4 separate regions of the Homo sapiens genome follow, and all the other regions are linked to region 4. Evidence: promoter capture Hi-C in 16 types of primary human blood cells and fetal thymus (Javierre and others, 2016). All regions are on one chromosome and are shown on one strand. Each heading gives the region's core, a stretch centred on a gene start or on the middle of the fragment in contact. The rest is flanking DNA. Distances are from core to core; before and after follow the strand shown.

What was found. The method cuts DNA at HindIII sites, captures the fragments that hold promoters and counts their contacts. A CHiCAGO score of 5 or more calls a contact.
Region 1: a contact is called between the fragment with the promoter of LRFN3 here and a fragment that was not itself captured in region 4, in 2 of 17 cell types (neutrophils and M0 macrophages). The highest score is 8.7, in neutrophils.
Region 2: a contact is called between the fragment with the promoter of TMEM147 here and a fragment that was not itself captured in region 4, in 4 of 17 cell types (neutrophils, monocytes, M0 macrophages and 1 more). The highest score is 9.7, in neutrophils.
Region 3: a contact is called between the fragment with the promoter of ATP4A here and a fragment that was not itself captured in region 4, in 1 of 17 cell types (neutrophils). The highest score is 5.8, in neutrophils.

What each region holds. Positions count from the first base shown.
Region 1 is chr19:35,934,483-35,937,623 of GRCh38, reverse strand. LRFN3 (leucine rich repeat and fibronectin type III domain containing 3) reads right to left here and starts at 1,250. Exons shown (of 3, transcript NM_024509.2): 1 at 69-1,250. The HindIII fragment of the contact is 21,793 bases long and covers 1-3,141 here.
Region 2 is chr19:35,543,765-35,546,875 of GRCh38, reverse strand. It overlaps TMEM147 (transmembrane protein 147), which reads right to left and starts at 1,250. Exons shown (of 7, transcript NM_032635.4): 1 at 1,060-1,250; 2 at 919-988; 3 at 291-350; 4 at 68-204. The coding sequence starts at 1,136. GAPDHS (glyceraldehyde-3-phosphate dehydrogenase, spermatogenic) reads right to left here. Exons shown (of 11, transcript NM_014364.5): 9 at 3,049-3,111; 10 at 1,870-1,967; 11 at 1,557-1,778. The coding sequence ends at 1,706. It overlaps TMEM147-AS1 (TMEM147 antisense RNA 1), which reads left to right and starts at 847. Exons shown (of 4, transcript NR_038396.1): 1 at 847-939. RefSeq lists a silencer at 669-1,248 and an enhancer at 941-1,633. The HindIII fragment of the contact is 5,741 bases long and covers 1-3,111 here.
Region 3 is chr19:35,562,332-35,565,207 of GRCh38, reverse strand. ATP4A (ATPase H+/K+ transporting subunit alpha) reads left to right here and starts at 1,550. Exons shown (of 22, transcript NM_000704.3): 1 at 1,550-1,590; 2 at 1,681-1,824; 3 at 1,940-1,999; 4 at 2,570-2,773. The coding sequence starts at 1,579. RefSeq lists an enhancer at 1-395. The HindIII fragment of the contact is 9,853 bases long and covers 1-2,876 here.
Region 4 is chr19:35,730,578-35,733,557 of GRCh38, reverse strand. It overlaps KMT2B (lysine methyltransferase 2B), which reads right to left. Exons shown (of 37, transcript NM_014727.3): 25 at 2,942-2,980; 26 at 2,691-2,851; 27 at 1,423-1,650; 28 at 50-1,343. Among named protein-coding and RNA genes, the nearest start is that of IGFLR1, 10 kb to the left of the region's middle. The HindIII fragment of the contact is 6,974 bases long and covers 1-2,980 here.

The sequences.
Region 1 (3,141 bases), core at 1-2,500, 200 kb before region 4:
GGTACCGTAACCCGCAGCCACAATGCTCCTCCCAGCCCGTCCCCACCTTGAGGTTTCAGCAGCCTTACCTGAGCTAGAAGCAGCCCCAGGGAGCAGAGTCCTAGCTCCAGGGGAGTCAGAGGTCAGGGCTCTGGAGGGAGCATCTGGTCATGCTTTTCCTGTCCCCAAGGCTTCTGTAGAGGGACTGTGTCCTGACTCGGCTCAAATCTGTGGCAACGGAGTCTCCAGACCTTAATACTCGGGGTTCCAGACCCCTAAATATTGGGCCTCTAGGGTCCAGTTTTACGGGTCCAGTTTGGGTTGTTCAGGGTCAGGGTCTCCCAGGTCCAGTCTTGGGATGCTAAGCAGCCAAACGGTGGGGTTTAGAGTCTGAGATCCGATCCCGGGGTTCTGCATTCAGATATTGGGGTGCTGAGTCAAGATTGGGAGGTCTCAAGCCCCAGATTTAAGCACTCAGGTCTGCAGCAAGGACTTCAGGCCCAAACTCGGGTTCAGGCCCCTTGGAATCCCACAGTCCAGATCTTGGAATTTGAGGCCTGAATCCCAGGGTTCAGGTCCCCAAGAGTGGGTTCCAGGGTACAGTACTGGAAATCCAGTCCCAGATTTCAAGGTCCCAGGCCCAGAATTCAGAGTTCAGCTCCAGGCTTGAGGTTTTAGATGTCAAATCTTGGGGTTCTGCTCCAAATATTGGGGTCTGTGTTCCAAATTGTGGGGTTCCGGCTCCAAATATTGAGGTCCCAGTGACCGATGTTGAGATTCCAGCCCCATATACTGGGGTTCAGGCTCCAGATCTTGGGGTTCCACGGCCGGATCTCGGGGTGCTGGTCCCAGATCAGGGTTCCAGGCTCGGGTTTCCGGAATTCCCGATTCAATCTGGGGGTGCAGGCCCCCGAGGTGGAGGTTAGGGCGCGGGGTCCGGGGCGGCGGCGTCCCGGCTGGCTTCCTGGGCTGCGGCGGAGGCTGACTGGGAGGGAGGGGACCGGCTGCGGTGGGGAGGGGGGCGACCGGGCAGCCCCAGGGCCGGGTGGGGCGAGGCCTGGGAGCGGAGGGACGGTCAGACAGACTGGGACACGCGGGATGGGGGCACCGCAGCGCAGGCGGGGGCGCAGGGGGGAGGGGCCGCGCTCAGAGACCCCTCCCCCGCCGGGGCCGAGGCGGGGGCCGGGCGGGGGCCGGGCTGGGCGGGCCGGGTCCAGGCGCTCCCGCGGCCTCCTCGCCGGCAACCCAGGGCAGCGCGCGCACCGGCGCTTAAAGGCGCAGGCTCCGCGCGCACCCGCGCTTAAAGGCGTAGGCACCCGCCCCTTCTCTCAAAGACGCGCCCCGGCCCCACCTCCCATGGAGTCGCACTGGCGCTGCTGGGAAAGAGAATCCCTGGATACAGAGAGACTGAGACAGAGAGACAGAGAAGAACGGAGATACAGAAAGGCAGACAAAAAGATGGGCAGGCTTAGATTGATGGATAGAGAGGAGAAAATGGAAAGAGGCAGAGAGACAGATTGAAACACACACATATTCGAGACATGGAAATGCACAGAGACAGCGAGACACAGAGAGTGATGGAGAGACAAGAGATAAGGACAAGTCAGAGAAAGACAGAAACAGAGATAGAGACGTGCGTGCGCGCGCACACACAGACACACACATACACACTCACACGCTCTAAGACGCAGCACCTGGGCTGTGAGAATGGTATGTGTGTATGTGCATTCAGTAACTATTCCTAGCCTTGAGTGTAGCGCTTCATTCCAGAGCCACTGGCCCCCCAAACCTGTCTCTTTCTGCCCCCCTTATCTCAGCACCACCTCCCTGGAATGTCCTTTCCACGGTTGGAGTTTCCTTACCTGGCCATGCCCAGCAATAGGCTTGATCTTTCAGGCCAGAGGGGCTCCTTCCCAAGGCTCCTTTCTCTGCCTGCAAGAGGGAAAACTTGTGCCATCTGGGATTAGGGAAAGACCTCAAGACACACTGACAGCCGGGGGCGGTGGCTCACGCCTGTAATCCCGGCTCGTTGGGAGGCCAAGGCGGGCGGATCTTTTGAGATCAGGCGTTGGAGACCAGCCTGGCCAACATGGAGAAACCCCGTCTCTACTAAAAATACAAAAATTAGCCGGGTGTGGTGGCGGACGCCCGTAATCCCAGCTACTCGGGAGGCTGAGGCAAGAGAATTGCTTGAACCCGGGAGGTGGAGATTGTAGTGATCTGAGATCCAGCCATTGCACTCCAGCCTGGGTGACAGAGTGAGACTCTGTCTTTAAAAGAAAGAAAGAAAGAAAGAAAAGCAGAGAGGGATGCCTTGCCTTGCAGGAGCCAGGCCAGGTGTCCTTGCAGTGCAGCCCACCAGGATCACCCGGGGGCACCATAGATCTCCAGGTCCCAACCTCAGAGTTTCTGGTTCAGTGGGTCTGAGGTGGGACCCAAACATTTGCATTTTTAACGAGTACCCAGGTGATGCTAATGTGACTTTTCAAAGACCATACTTTTTTTTTTGAGACAGGGTCTTGCTTTGTCACCCAGTACATTGGTGCAATCATAATTGACTGCAACCTCAAATTCCTGGGCTCAAGCAATCCTCCCACCTCAGGCTCCAGAGTAACTGAGACTACAGGCATGCATCGCCATATCCAGCTAATTTTTAAAATTTCTTGTAGAGACAGGGTCTCAATATGCTGCCCAGGCTGGTCTTGAACTCTTGGCCTCAGGCAATCCTCCCTCCCAGGCCTCCCAAAGTGTTGTGATTACAGGTGTGAGCCACTACACCTGGTCAGGGACCACATTTTGAGAACAGCTGGGCTGAACCAGGGCTATCTGCACTGCACACGGAACTGTCTACCACAACAGCTATGCTAAAACCTGGTGGGTTGAGGGCATGTAGCACCGCAGATGTGTACCAAAGAGACAAATGTATTTAGAGACATAAAGAGGAATTCAGTCTATAAGGGACTTAAACAATGCAACAAGCAAAAAACAAATAACCCCATTTTATTATTATTTTATTTATTTATTTATTTTTGAGACAGAGTCTAGCTCTGTTGCCCAGGCTGGAGTGCAGTGGTGTGATCTTGGCTCACCGCAAGCTCCACCTCCCGGGTTCACGCCATTCTCCTGCCTCAGCCTCCCGAGTAGCTGGGACTAGAGGCGTCT
Region 2 (3,111 bases), core at 1-2,500, 190 kb after region 4:
CTCCAGCACCCCCGTGGAACCCAGGTGTCCCTTCTCAGGGGTCTGGGCTCCAGGCTGCTGTACGCACCGGGACATAATAAGCTCAGCAGTGGCCCAGCCCAGGGCAGCAACCATGATCTTGTACTCTCCCTTGCCGGCATTCCGGGACATGACAAGGTTTAGACCTATCAGGTCTGCCACATCCACGCTGGCCTTCATGAACTCCTGCGGGTCAGGTTGAGGCTTAAGTAAGCACAGGGGGACAGGGAGCCCCATTCCTGAACTCCCTTCCCTTCCCTGGCCCCTCTCACCCCAATGAAGTCATAGATGCCGCCTTCCCAGGTGGGAAAGAAAGTGGCCAAGAACAGCATCTGAGAACAGAAAGCAGAAAGAGGTCACTTCAAGGTGAGGGGATCAAGATAAACCACGTGGGATTTGTGGGAAGTTCGTGGGTAGGAAGAGGGCAGGACAGGTTCTGGGGGCCCATCTGGAAGAGGAACCACCAGATGGTGGCAAAATTACAGGAATCGGGGAGATAGAGGATAGGTCCCCGGGTCCCCGAGGGGGCTGGAAGTTTGAGTTCTGGGTGATCACAGGGCATCTGAGTCAGGTCTGAAGGTGCTGCTCCTTGGGCAGTGTTAGCAGCACGTACGGAATCAGTGATCACTCTTAACCGCACCAAAAAAAACCTGTTAGCCAACCACACTACTGAGGTTTTCTCAGTTTTACTAAGTGCTACGCAAAAGTTGCTTCTAGGTCTCTTCTCAGGTCGTGCCCTCTTTAAAGTCCATCCTCTCTAGGTATCCTGACGCCTCCCAGTGCGGAGTCCCGAGGGCGGTCCCACCGTGGGGCGGCGGGGGCGCGGATAGGCAACGGGGGCGGGTCCCTGGGTCTGCAGAGCCTGGGGGCCAGAACACGTGGCTTCCCGGTGGCCCTCACCTTGCAGAGTTGGACAAAGAGGTAGGTGACTCCAGCCTGGACGCATTTCCAGAAGGCGTTGTACTCGGACCTGGAGAAGCGGGAGGTGAGGGTCGGCCCGGGCCCCGCGCCCTCTCCGCCCCGCGCCCTTCCCGCACTCACAGGCCGCTGCACTTGTAGGTGATGAAGTAGGGGAAGTAGGCAAGAGCGAAGCAGTTCCCGAAGTGAAACAGGGTCATGATGCCGGCCGCCCGGTCCCGCCCGCGCGGGGATCGCGAGGCGGCGTCTCCGGGAGCGGGTCTCCGGCTCCGCCGGCTCTTTCGCCACGGCCAGGGCCTGGCACCCACCTGACTGGCGGGGGCCCGCGCGCGACCTTCTGGGAGCAGTAGTCCCGGCGCGGGGCGTCGCGCCCAGTGACGTCAGAGAGCCCGTGGCCGGCCCTGGGTCCCACCGCTGCCGGCCCAGCGCTTTGGGGAGTGACTTCCGGCCATGCGGGGCCTCTACCGCTGCCATCGCGGTCCCGGTCTCCTGAAGTGGAACCCGGCTTGGAGTCGAGCGCGACCCCTCGCCCGTGGGCGCAGGCGATCGAGTAAGGGTGGGGCGGGCCTCAAACCCGGATCAGAACCCGCCCTGACCGGCGCAGAGATACGGGACGCAGCCGTGAGCACTGTTTTTTATTTCACCATGGACCCATCGGCGTGGGGCGCCCGCCCCGGGTGTCCTTCCTCCCCCGGGCAGCCAGATGCTGGAACGGGAGGCACATGTTCCGGCCCCGGCCCCTGGGAAGGAAAGAAAGGACCTTCCCGTTTCACTTGTCTCGGCTGAACATGTAGCGGAGGAGGTCGACCACCCGGTGACTGTAGCCATATTCGTTGTCGTACCTGTGGAGGAGGGGTCGGGAGGTTCAAGGGGGTTCCTTCCGACCACCCCTTAGTTCCCCTCCCTCTAAGTCTCCAGCTCCTTCCCCCTTACCATGAAATGAGCTTCACGAAATTGTCATTGAGCGCAATGCCGGCCTTAGCATCGAAGATGGACGAGTGGGTATCACCGAGGAAGTCCGTAGAGACGACCTGGAAGTCAGAATTTCAAAGATAAGTGTGTCCGGCAGAGCAAGGACCTCCAGGAGCTGAGGCCCCGACTCTTAACTCTATCGCCCATCCATGCATTCATCTATAATATTTGATGTAGCCCTACTGTGTCCAGTCTCTGGACTGGAGGGTATGACCAAGTGCAGGGTATGACCAAGGCACTGTGTCAGGGTCTGGCCAAAGGGCACAGGTCACAAACACCCTCATGCTGTACCAGTACATCCCTTTCCTAGGAATAATGCAAGCGTTTGGAATGGGCCAGCATGGAGGGCCTCTCTGAGGGGTGGCCATGAGCCTGGGTCTAGATGACTAGAAAGATCTGACCGGCTGGGGCCCTCAGCACAGTGTCTGAGGTAGAAGGAGCTGCAGGAAGGGAGGACCTGAGGGTTTTAGCCCTAGTGTCATGAAAGGCCACAGGAGTGTTTTCAATCCTGAAAACGGGTGATGCAATGTGATTCCATTAAAACAAAAGATCCCAGTGACTGTGGGAAAGTGGACCTGCAGGAGTTAATGCAGGGAGACAGCACCAAGGTGGATGTACAGGGGTCCACCATGACCATGGCATCCACTCCTCACAGAGAAGGCATCTGGCCATGGCCTGGCCCTGAGCAAGTATTGAAAAAAATGGGAGCTGTTGTCTTTTGTTCACTAAGCATGTATTAGTCACCTGCTGTATGCCAGGTTGGAGCCACAAAAGTGAAAAGGCAGCCCCTAAATCCCTGTTTTCTTGGAGTGCACACACCACTGGGGCCAACAGTGACTATGAAATGAAATTTCAGGTGAGGAATATGGCCACAAAAAGAACATATTTTGAGGGGGTGCCTTGCTGAAGAGGGAGGTTCCTCCAGAGACTTGGAGGAAGTAAGGACAGACTGTATGGTCACCTGGCAAGGGAAGCATTCCAGACTAAAGGAACAGCAAGTGCAAAGGCCCTGAGGCAGGGAGATCTCCCTTCCTGCCCTGCAGTTTCTGACTTGGCACATTGAGAGCAGCTCCCTGGCAAGTGGAAATCATGTCCCTTCCCAGAGGGCTCCTCCCAGGGTCTCCTCTCCTCAGCCCCTACCTCATCCTCGGTGTAGGCAAGGATGCCAGCCATGGGCCCCTTGGCTGCTGCTTTTACAGCCTC
Region 3 (2,876 bases), core at 301-2,800, 170 kb after region 4:
CTGCCCAACAGCTTTGAGTTTCCCAGGTGACCTGCCCCAGTAGAGAAGGACATTGCCAGGGCAGTTATCTTATCAGGCGCACGCTCACCTGCTCCTGGAGACACGCTCACCCCATAACATACCAAGGTCCCCACCATTCCACTGGCCCAGCCCCTCGCTGCTGCTGCCCATGGAGGTCCCTACCTGAGGGATGAGGAGGGAGTCCCCAGGCCTCCTGGCATCTGTCACCCAACACCAAGATCAAGCCAAGACCCTTGGACACATCCTTTCCCCATGTTGCACCTTGGTTTCCCCATCTAGGGTAGGGACGGGGAATGGTTGAGAGCTGTAAAGTCTGTAGCTGGATATGTGAGTCCCTGTGAGCCTCAGTTTCCCCCTCTGCACAACAGGAATGATAGTTCTGCCTGCACAGGGTTTTTTGCAAAGACCCGTGAGGTCACACGTGCAGAGCCTGGCATGTGTGTGGTGCTGCTGCAGTGAAGTTTGGGTTTTTCCATTGGTGGTGCCATAGAAGAGCTAGGCTCTGGGGTCAAGCCCTGGGGTCAAGCCCGGGCTGGAACCCTGTCCCTAATTCTTAGACGTTGAAATCTTCTGCAAAGTCCCTGATGGGGGCTAAGAAGAGAATATTGCTTTACAGGGCTGCTGTTAGATGCTAAGGAAACCATTTGAGTGACACACAGAGCACACCCAGCCCATAGTGAATAGTCAGAGTTCAGTAAACATTCAGCCACCATAGAGAGTGTTGTAAGCATGGCAGGGCATGGTGGCTCACGCCTGTAATCCCAGCACTTTGGGAGGCCAAGGCGGGTGGATCACCTGAGGTCAGGAGTTCGAGACCAGCCTGGCCAACCTGGTGAAACCCCGTCTCTACTAAAAGTACAAAAATTAGCTGGGTGTGGTGGCATGTGCCTGTAGTCCCAGCTACTCAAGAGGCTGAGGCAGGAGAATCACTTGAACCCGGGAGGCGGAGGTTGCAGCGAGCTGAGATTGCACCACTGCACTCCAACCTGGGTGTCAGAGTGACACTCCATCTCAAAAAAAAAAAGAAAAAAAAAAAGAGTGTGGGAGCACCCTCCTCTTCCAGTTGATCAGGCACGTGCTATTTAGACTGAAAGAGGACACTCTGCAGCCAGCTGATCTGGTTCTCACTCCATTATGTCCTAGCCTGTGATGGAGCCATAGGAGAATGACTCAACCCCTCCATGCCTCAGTTTCCCCATCTGTAAAGGGTCTTGTCCCCTCAAAGGGTTATTGGAAGGTTAAATAAGTTAGCACATGGAAGCCGTCAGCACAATGCCCAGCGCATAATGAGCACCTTATGTTTGCTCTTCTTGTTGCTGCAGCGGTTCCCAGGGGCTCCCTGATCTCAGGGCAGGTTGACATGGGGGGATCTGGGCAGGGGAGGGGGGGGCCAGCCCAGGAGGGAATGCCTGAGGTGCCCAGGCCTAGAGGTCACCCCAAGGAGCCTGTAATCAGCTGTGGTCGGGCGGTTCTGCTCCACCCCACCGCCCTCCCTGGGTATATCAGGACTGGTCCGGGCCCAGGCTCTGTTGGGTGGGAGCACAGGCACCGGGCACCATGGGGAAGGCCGTGAGTGGGGCCCAGGGGTCCGGGGTGCAGTGGGGACAGGGGTTGCAGTGGAATCTGAGTTCTCCCTCCCTCCATCCTGTCCATTCCCAGGAGAACTATGAGCTCTACTCGGTGGAGCTGGGTCCTGGCCCTGGCGGGGACATGGCTGCCAAGATGAGCAAGAAGAAGAAGGCGGGTGGCGGGGGTGGCAAGAGGAAGGAGAAGCTGGAGAACATGAAGAAGGAGATGGAGATTGTGAGCTCTGACTGGGGAGGGGCGGGAGCTGGAGGGTAGGCTGGGAACCAGGCAGTGGGCGGGGAGGGGGCCAGGAGAGCCCAGAGCAAGCACCCTGCCCCACCCCACCACACAGAACGACCACCAGCTGTCAGTGGCGGAGCTGGAACAGAAATACCAGACCAGTGCCACCAAGGTGAGCTGGAGACTGGGAGCGTACAGAAAGGGGAGGAGGAGAGAGGGAGGGAGAGGGAGATGGAAGGAGGGAGATGGAGAGAGGGAGAGAGAGGGAGAGATGAAGAGAGGAAGATATGGAGAAATAGAGAGAGGGAGGGAGGCAGAAAAGGAAAGAGGGAGGGAGGGAGAGAGGAAAGGATGGAGGGAGGGGAGGAGAGAGGGAGGGAGATGGAGAGAGGGAGAGAGAGGGAGAGGGAGAGAAGGGAGAAAGCATTAGAGAGAAAGGGTGACACACAGAGACGGAGAGAGGAGTAGCTGAAAAGAGACAGCAAGACAGAGAAGGCAGAGACAAATAAGGAGAGAGCAGCAGGAGAGAGACACATAGAAAGGGGAGCGAGGAGAGAGAGACAAAGGGAGAGATGAAGGAGGGAGGGAGAGATGGGGTGGGGGCAGGAACCAAGAGACAAAGAGATGAGAAGGAGCAGGACAGACCAAGCTGGAGAAGGGAAACTGAAGCAGGGGGCTTTCCACGGGGTGTGCATGTGGAGGAAAGCCCCCAGGACCGCCTCGCCCTGCCCCTCTGTCCCAGGGCCTCTCTGCGAGCCTGGCTGCTGAGCTGCTGCTGCGGGATGGGCCCAACGCACTGCGGCCACCACGGGGCACCCCAGAGTACGTCAAGTTCGCGAGGCAGCTGGCCGGGGGCCTGCAGTGCCTCATGTGGGTTGCCGCCGCCATCTGCCTCATCGCCTTTGCCATCCAGGCTAGTGAGGGGGACCTCACCACCGACGACAATGTGAGCCATGTTGTGGGGACAGGCTCAGGACATGGGGACCTGGGGATGGAAGACACTGAGCCTGGGACTTGGGACAAGAGGGGCAGAGAAGGATGGGGATAGA
Region 4 (2,980 bases), core at 481-2,980:
GCCCATCTGCCCCCTTGCCTGCTCTGCCAGCCTCAGCACCCGCACTCACCCGCCACTGCCAAGCCCTGGAACCTGAGGGGTATCCTCTGAGGCCTCTCCATCTTCATCCAGCCGGGGGGCTTTGTATGGGGGAGGTGCTGGCGGGGACCGGCCGGAGAAAGTGGACACCCTCTTGACGCGGATGGCCTGGCGGGGCGGGCTGGCTGGCCCACTGCTCAGCACCAGCGTCAGGGGAGGGGGTGGCGGGGGCGGGGCAGGGCGGACCACTCCGACCACGGGCAGCACGCCGAGGAGGGGGCCTGGGGGCAGAGTCCAGGAGGTGGGAGCCGTGGGGGAAATGGTGGGGGGCAAAGGTGGCTGCTTCACTGGGGGTGGGACAGGTTCACCCTCCCCAGCCATCTTCACAAATACTTGCCCCAGCTTGTTGACAAGTATGATTTTGGATGTGGCGGGTTTGGGGGGCTCAGGGGCAGGGCCAAGGCTTAACACCCGGACCCCTGGGGCCCCTGGGAGCCAGGCAAATGTGCGGGTGGGGTCAGCTGGGCTGGCGGTCAGGCCTTGGGAGGGCTGGCTGCCATTAGCCAGGGGAGGCGCCGGGGGGAGTGACTCCTCTCTAGGGCCAGCACCTCCATCCCCAGGACCCCCTAGGTTCTTCAACACAAAATCCACAATTTCCGATGGCAGGTCCTCAGGAGGCCGGGCCCTGTCCCCTGCAGCCCCAAGGACCCCTGCCCGGACTACTCCTGGCCCCGAAGGAGGCGTGCCCTGGCCCCGAGGCTGCTGCACCGCCTCAGCCTCACTGTCAGTGCCGTCGTCCACGCCGTCCAGCTGTTCAATGCGGGGGGCTCCAGGGGTAGCGCTGGGGGCCAGACCAGGGGCGGACACCACAGTCACAGGGAAGTGGATGTAGCGGGAGGTGGGGCTGGACTCCTCCTCGGAGCTGTCCCCCGGGCCCCCGTGGCTGCTCCCCATGGCCCCAGCGGCTACAATCTCTTCCTGGAAGGGCTCAGTCCCCAGCAGGCTGGCCGCGAAGTCCAGGTCAGCAGCACTCAGTCCTGACACCACCTCCATGTCCTCGAAGTCTGGGCCCAGGTCTTCAGGGGGTGGTGGAGATGGGGCCGGGCCAGGGGGAGCCAGCTCCCCTGAGGTAGGTGTGAGGGCTGTGACGACTGAGGTAGGAGGGGGCACCCTGAGCTGAGGGGAGGTTTTTAGAGGAGGGGAGGCCCACCGTGATGGAGGCGGCCTGGGAGCCAAAGGGCTGGGACGACGGGAACGTCTGGGGGGAGCTGGGAAGTCCGGGTCTCCCACTGTGGGGATGTGGTGGGTCAGTGAAGATGGACTTCCTGTGGGGGGAGGGTTGGTGTTACCAGCAGCTCCCACCTCCGCGGCTCCACCCCCAACCCCCACATGCCCGGTGCTCACCAGGGGAGGGCAGGGGGCCAAAGGAGACACCCCCCAAGGGCCTCCGGGATGGCGAGTAGTTGGGCACTTTGATTCGAGCCCCCGAAAAAGAACGGGGGGCTGGAGGAGGGGCGCTGCCTGAATCTGGCCGCAGTGGAGGGTCCAGGTTCTGAATGGGCGAGTGGCGCTCAGGAGCTCCAGGGACAAGAACATCTGTGTCCAGTGGGGGGTCCTCACCACCTGGGGGCTCTGAAGAGGCGAGAAATGGCATTGGGGTGGTAGGGGCTCTGTGTCAAAGCCTGCCCACATGCTCTCATCCTGAGCCACTATGCCTCCCAGGTCCCCGACCCTGACCCAGTCACAACAGGCCCCAGTTTCCAGTGACCACCCAGGCTAAACCCACCGTGGAGTTGGCAAAACCTGCACACACCTGGGCCAGGGGGCCTTCAGGGCCTCTCCCCACTCGCTCCTTGCCATCTCCTCTCTGCCTCTGCTGCAGGCTTTGCACGCCATGGGGAACTGCCCTCCCTCCAGCACGGCCAGTCCTACCACTTTCTTACTTGCCTGGTGCATCCAAGCCACATCAGACGCTCCCGCCCGCCCCGGCCCGGAGGCTCTCCATTACCTGGCTCCACCCAACCTCTGCAAACTGATCTCCCTCCTCCACCCAAAACTCCCTGGTTTCCAGACGGGATGGGTGTACCCTCCTCCTCTGTCCACTTCTTGTCATGCTCCAACCTGGAATAAAGCCCTTCCTACCATCCAAATCTCTTCTGCCTCCTGCTCTGCCCACAATAACCTCTCCCCCATCTCCAAGCCCATTCTTTGCCCTGTGCCATCCAGCTCTCAGCCACATCCCACAGCCAGTGTGGCTGTAAGGGGGCCGGTTTGGGAGCTGAGCAGATGCAGTTCCAATTCCAGCTTCCCTAGCATGTTACTGTGTTCAGCCACTGTCCCCTTCAAGGTGTAGTATGGCGACACTGGAGAGCGCTCCATGAGCACAGTGCCCCAAGTTAGGGAGCTGTAAGCACTCTACTCCCTGCAGTCGTCCAAAAGCCAGTACCCCACCTCAAGTAGGCAGCGTGCCGCTCTCCCCACCTCACTTCCCATGAAAAGCCGGGCACAGCCCCTGGCACACAAGGCATGGCAGTAAGCGAGCTGCCGTTACATTACAGCAACTGAAGCAAAAGCAAGCCTCCTGGACTTTCCAAAAGGGAGCGGGGAACAGAGATCTGTAGGTTTGTTTAGGGAGAGCGGTATTCAGGAAGAAGACAGAGCCAAAGCCACACCTGAGGAAGGGGCGGGGCTGTGCACAATGGTCTGGTTCTCCTCTGCAGCCTCCAGGTGAGCTGGCTCTTCCCTCGGCCCCCATGGCCGATACTCCAGAATTCGGCACCGATACCAGCAGCGCCTCCGAGCATCCACTGTGCTCCAGTACAGACGGGAGCACCTGGCATGTGGGATAAGACGGTTAGGATGCTTGGGAAATGGGATCCAGCTATGGAGTCCCCTGGCCCCATGGATCACCCCGACCGCTCACTGGTAGCCAATGGGGAAGAGCCGTCCCTCGCAGTCCGAG